2 separate regions of the Homo sapiens genome follow, and region 2 is linked to region 1. The links are contacts of gene promoters, found by promoter capture Hi-C in human tissues and cell types (Jung and others, 2019). All regions are on one chromosome and are shown on one strand. Each heading gives the region's core, a stretch centred on a gene start or on the middle of the fragment in contact. The rest is flanking DNA. Distances are from core to core; before and after follow the strand shown.

Evidence for each region. Contacts are between HindIII fragments. The study calls those that stand out against the background at their distance.
Region 2: a fragment that was not itself captured here is called in contact with the fragment with the promoter of PHACTR1 in region 1 in 2 of the 25 tissues and cell types used here (dorsolateral prefrontal cortex and spleen).

Annotation. Positions count from the first base shown.
Region 1 is chr6:12,715,242-12,718,346 of GRCh38, forward strand. PHACTR1 (phosphatase and actin regulator 1) reads left to right here and starts at 1,526. Exons shown (of 15, transcript NM_030948.6): 1 at 1,526-1,655; 2 at 2,268-2,502. All of the region lies in intron 1 of LOC107984015 (a long non-coding RNA gene), which reads right to left. The HindIII fragment of the contact is 3,467 bases long and covers 1,178-3,105 here.
Region 2 is chr6:12,657,435-12,660,456 of GRCh38, forward strand. No RefSeq gene overlaps it. Among named protein-coding and RNA genes, the nearest start is that of PHACTR1, 58 kb to the right of the region's middle. The HindIII fragment of the contact is 3,182 bases long and covers 1-2,974 here.

The sequences.
Region 1 (3,105 bases), core at 276-2,775:
CAGGTGATCCACCCACCTTGACTTCCCATAGTGCTGGGATTACAGACATGAGCCTCTGTGCCCGGCCCCAAATACATTTCTTTAAGTTGAAATTTTCCCTCCTGAGTTTTCTTAAATTACGACCCTTTCATATTATTTGTTCACTTTGTAAAGTATTTTAAATTTCTCTTTCTTGGTCAACTCTCCAGAAATGACTGACTTCCAAATCCACCACCTACCCCCTGGGAATCAACTCTATTTTTCACATTTCCAGTTTAGCATCTCTTTCTTCAATCACACATTCATTTGCACTCACCTAAAGGTTTGGTCAGCAGCATAGACTTATACTCTCTCTCTCTCTCTTTCTCTCATCTATGAGTCATTACAATTTCAGTAGAATTACAATAACGAGTTCAGAACCTGTCGCCCACACCTCACAGTAAGTAAAAGGAACCAGAAGACAGCTTTCTCCTCTTATAAATGTCAAGTGTTCAGCATGTCTCCAGTGGGTGCTGAATAGAAAAGTAACCTTAAAGAAGTCAGTCCTTGGGTTGGAGCAAAGCTTTCAGAATTCAGAGTCCATAGTTGACTTTCCTACAAGGGCATATGATTGGTAGTTTCAGCTTCCTTTTTCATGAGGCTTAACTGTCTGCAGCACCGGCTTGGTGTCTGATCTGTTCTGATCGGGTGGGAGAGGGAGACCCCACAAAACAAACAGCAGAGGATTTTCAGGTTTGTTTCAAGGGCAGCCAGCCGAGCTGTGTATAGGGAGTGGGGGGACAGGGGTGGTGTTGATGGTCTTCCTTCCGAGGCTTATCAAATGTAAATGCTCTTTTCTTAACAAGCTGACCCACTGTACACCACACCATACTAATGAGCAATTCTGCTTGGTCAACAAAGGGTGCAAGAGGTTGTGGAAAACCCACAGTAGGGCTTGCATTTGGCTATCACTATGCCCTGCATGAAGATCTCAAAGTACTGTGCCTAAAAGTCATTACTGAGGTTTGGTAGGAAGAATATTAAACCAGAATAACTTGAGATACTAGCCAAAGTTTATTTTTGTTGTTGGTATTATTTTGTTACATTCAGACAGAGAGAAATGCATTTAGGCAGACTGGCATGATCTGCGCTGGATATTTGACCAGGCAATCAGAAGCAAGGAAAGGAAGAAAGCCAGGCAAGAGGGAAGGGGTGACATCAAACGTGCCCTCTGTATTTCGCTCCAGAAAACAGCTCACAATTATGACTACCTGCCTTGTTTTGCAGCTCAGCATAAAAGTGGTGTTGCACCAAACCCTACTGGAGCAGCCTTCATGATTAGAAAGTACTCCACACCTTGGAGAGCTGAGGAGACATGAGAATAATTTTAAATGCAAATTAAATTGAGGGGGTAGCAGAGAAGAACACATAAAAGACAGTAAAACAAAACCTTTCAATTTTCTTAAATTAGCAGTCTAATGTGTTCTAAAGAGCAGCTCCACTCAGATCTCTTCTTAAGGGTTGCATTTCATCACAGTATAAATGGGCAAATCCATCACTTCCCTCTGCTCAGTGCTCTTGAAGCGAGATTGAAGGGAAAATTAGAAGCTGTTCATTTGTGCTTGCGGGCTCAGAAGCGTCGCACTGCTTTGTTTTGTACTCTACCGTGTCCTGTTGAAAGGGGTCAACAAGTGCCGGTGAGTATCCGCTAACTTCCAGACTCTTCCTTTCAAATATCTTTTTGGCTAATTTTCCTTTGCCGGGGATGGGGGTTGTGGGGGGAGTGGGGATCTCCCACAAAATCTATGCTATAATATGTCTTTCAGAATCTGGGAAATTTCAGACAGCTTTTTAAGCTTCTTCCAGTGACTGATTTGCAGAAGGGAAGAGTTATTTTCAGCCTAGATGCCGGTGGCTGTTCTGTGTATTAATTATAACAGGGGAATGTCTAACGTATGTTAAGCTAAAATGGCCTTTCCCTAAACTCCCCCATTCCCTGCCACTCTTAGGCCAGCATTAGGGTAATAACTGGTGCCCCCACAAAAATTTCTAGACAACTTTTCTATATATTAAATTTTTAATCATTTCATATTCTATTCTTTTGTAGCTGCAAATCAAACTAAGATTTGGGATTATGAAAATAAACAATGAAGACATAAATCTGTTTTGTTTTTTTTTTAATGACTATGGCACTTCTCTGCCTAAGAGATAGGGGGCTGGGGAATAGCCCTGCATGATGTATGCATGTGGATTTGATGATTTTCTGCCAAAGTTTTACACGGGAAACTGGTAATTTTCTCCCTTCGCAGGGGAGGGTGCAGAGGCTGAGGCTGGCGTCACCTTCCGTTGCTAAGGTAACGTGCTCTGGCCATTTTATCTGATAAAGGAAGTCCAGTGGACTGTATGCATTATTCATCACTGTTCTAATCAAACAATCAAAATCGTTTACTTTCACCGGGAATATTTAGCAAGATCAAAGACACTCTGGCTGGAACGGCTCTTGTTTTACCGCTGACAGATAGCCTTTGATTTTTATTTTTTGCAGTAAGTATATTTGCTATTGGGGTACCTTTGGGTATTTTTAAAAGTTTTGTCTTACCGGACTTGGTTTCTTAAATTAAAATACATACTGTTAGAAAGAGAAACCAATTGGATTAGACTTCCAAGCTTGGTTTTAATGACTTTGTCTTGTTAATTCTTTCCAAAAAAATATTCTGCAGAAATAGAGATAATTCATTTGTGTGAGTATCAGGGAAAGGCTACATAGGCTTGAAAAAAGAACCCAACAGGCTGAATGTTTTCTGGGGAAGTATATTAGCTTTGTGACAGGCTAGTGTATGATAATATAGGGATCACTGTAATGCTGCAATCATTCTTGCTGCTCTACAAACCACAATTGTTTCTCAAAAATCAGCCCCTGCCAGGCACAGGCAGGTGACGATCCTCTAGCACTTTATAAAATGTGCTGAAGGGAATCGCCGGAAAGGAAGGAATTCAAAGCATTTGTACAGCAAATATGTCAGTGTGTGTCATAAACGCACGGCATCTATGAGTGGAGGCTCGGATTCCCAGGCAATTTTCCCTGCTCCAGGGGAATCCGAAAGTCCCAGGATGAGCTGAGGATCAACACTCACAACGGCTGACACT
Region 2 (3,022 bases), core at 134-2,633, 58 kb before region 1:
GGGCTGAGAAGTAAATAGACTCACAGGAAGAACTCACCCACACTCCTCATCACAAACCATACCCTGGACAAATAAATGCTCTGGAACCTACAAAGCCACAATTCAGAGATGGAAACTGACTTCTCTAAAGTCACATCTAAAGGCAGTAACATTTACACACCAAATTTGGAAACCAAAGGCCATGCGATTTAAATGTTCTGCGCTGCCTCTTCAGGGTACTGATTTCCAACCTCATTTTCAAATTGACTTATATCTGAAATGGTTCATGTGCTTGAGACCTGCAGTAATTTAGCTAGAAATTTCTTTGGTTCAAAATGATCAGCTGTCAATTTTTTTTTTTTTTTTGCAGTGGTTTAGGCAACAATTTAAAAATGATCTACCATTAGTATGTAGAGAAAAGACCTCAATGTTCTTTTATTTTATTCTTAAATATTTATTTAATAAATAACAAAGATGAAATAAATAAAATGTATTTGAATTATTAGAGTGGACAGAAAATAAGCGTATTATTACATACCACTATTGTAAAGAGTGTTTTTACACGCTTTGTTAGAGCAAGAATTTAAATGTCCTTAATGAGAAAAGTGGAACTATAGCACACTGAGCCAATTATGTAATTCTACCAAATTTTCCAGGAAATAAAGCTCACAATGTTTATTTAGCAAAACATGTGATTGCCAAGACTGTACCTGCAATGTGCCATTAATAATTCAATTTGCCTAATCACTACATCTAAGGAAAACATTTTGCATTTTGGTAGAAGCTTTAACTCTTTCTTCTTTTTCTTACCTACAACATGCCAGAGGTGAGTCTGAGGCTGGTATAGATATCTCTATTTTACAAATGAAGAACTGAGTCCCACAGATCAACTGTCACCCAAAGTGATGCTGTACTGGAGGACTGATGATTCTTCCTGAACTGTGGGCTCTGATTTGTTTGACCAGAAAGGACAATACCCATTAGATAGATTACTTTACAAATTAAAAGGATTATGTAAATTTCCAACTATTTCAAAATGATATAAGCATTCGGGAAGTCATTAGTGGCATTTAAATTTGAGTTTTAAATCTAAGGTGGATGACAATCTAGAGTCTTTGCCTTTGGGAGGAAGGGCTGGGGATTGGCGGAGAAAGGCATGAGAGGGCTTCTGCAAGGATGGTAATTTCTACATGATTAGTGGGGTGGATACCTATGTGATAAAGTGAGTATAGCAAAATGTTAATGGTAGAATCTTGGTGTGTATTCAGTGTTTGCTCTAAAATTCTTTCAATTTTTCTGTATGTGTAAAATTTTCTGTATGTTATAATATCAAATATACTATACTAAATAATAAAATATTATAAAAAAAGATACATTGTTTTAAATGGAGTTTTTACCCAATATATATTAGAAAACCCTTAAGTATGCATATAAATCACCTGTGTCTGCTTAATAAACACAATGTGAATGACTGTGCCTAAAAATTATACTCAGGGGAAGCACTTAGCACCTCATTGTATTTTTCTTAGAACAATTTTTTATTTATCCAAATGGTACTCTAATTTTACTAAAATGAAAACTGAGAGTATTTGCTCTTTTCTGGATATTTGAGAAGCATATTTATTTTCAGGGCAACTGATTGTTAATGAATTCCCTTACTATCCTTAATATCAGTAACTAAATAAACATTTCTAAATTATTTTCAAACAATTATAGACTTTTTTGTTCATTTTCTTTTCAAATGATCTCACTATTCTTAAGACAATCTTCAAATAAAGCAAAGAAAAAACATTTCCTTTTTTTTTTTTTTTTTTTTTTTTTTTTTTTTTTTTTTTTTTTTGAGACAGAGTCTTACTCTGTCACCCAGGCTGGAGGGCAGTGGCGCATCTCGGCTCACTGCAACCTCTGCCTCCTGGGCTCAAGCGATTCTCTTGCCTCAGCCTCCCGAGTAGCTGTGATTACAGGCACCCGCCACCATGCCAGGCTAATTTTTTGTATTTTTAGTAGAGACAGGGTTTCGCCATGTTGCCCAGGCTGGTCTGGAACTCCTGACCTCAGGCAATCTGCCCAACTCAGCCTCCCAAAGTGCTGGGATTACAGGCCTGAGCCACCGCGCCCAGGCAACATTTCCATTTTTAGTAACGTAGCAGAACCTTGCCATCAAGCTTGCTCATATTACCTTTTTTTGGCTGCAGTGGAAAACAAGTGCTTCCTCTTTCAAAAACTCCAGTGACTGACAGCTGTCAGTGTTGGCTGAGTTACCTTGCGTTGGTTTTGTCCATTCCACTTGTCTTTTGATTTCACAGTTCAAGGAGAAGAAGGCAAAAACAAACAAACCAGCCTTAAATAAGCAGAGTAACTCTCAAAGAAAACTATTTGGGACAACCTTCTTAAAAGAATAGGTAACAGGCCAGGCGTGGTGGCTCTCGCCTGTAATGCCAGCACTTTGGGAGGCCAAGAAGGGGAGATCACTTGAGGTCAGGAGTTTGAGACCAGCCTGGCCAACACAGTGTAACCCCGCCTCTACTAAAAATACAAAAATTAGCCGGACGTGGTAGCGCACTCCTGCAATCCCAACTACTCGGGATGCTGAGGCAGGAGAATCACTTGAACCCAGGAGGCAGAGGTTGCAGTGAGCTTGCGCGCCACTGCACTCCAGCCTGGGCAATACAGCGAGATTTGGTCTCAAAAAAAAAAAAAAAAAAGAAAGAAAAATAGAATAGGTAATAATCTTTTTCAAGTAACCTTGCTAATGCAGCAGTTTCATTTTTCGAAAGGGGATTGAGGAAAGATATATGTTTTCTCTCTTTGGCTCTGGCACCCACACACATGTACAAGCTTCACTAAGGCATGTCGTCACTGTACTTCATTCTTCCTTGAAACTCTGGGCTGCCAGAACATTCGCCTTTGCTGTGTTTTTCCTGCTACAGATGATGTGAGGTGGGCTTGCCTGTTTGTTGGAGATATTAAAGCTCACTAGCAATACTTCGTTAATGTTTAGTTTCCACTTGAGGATTTTTCTGATTTTTCAAATGCTTCACCA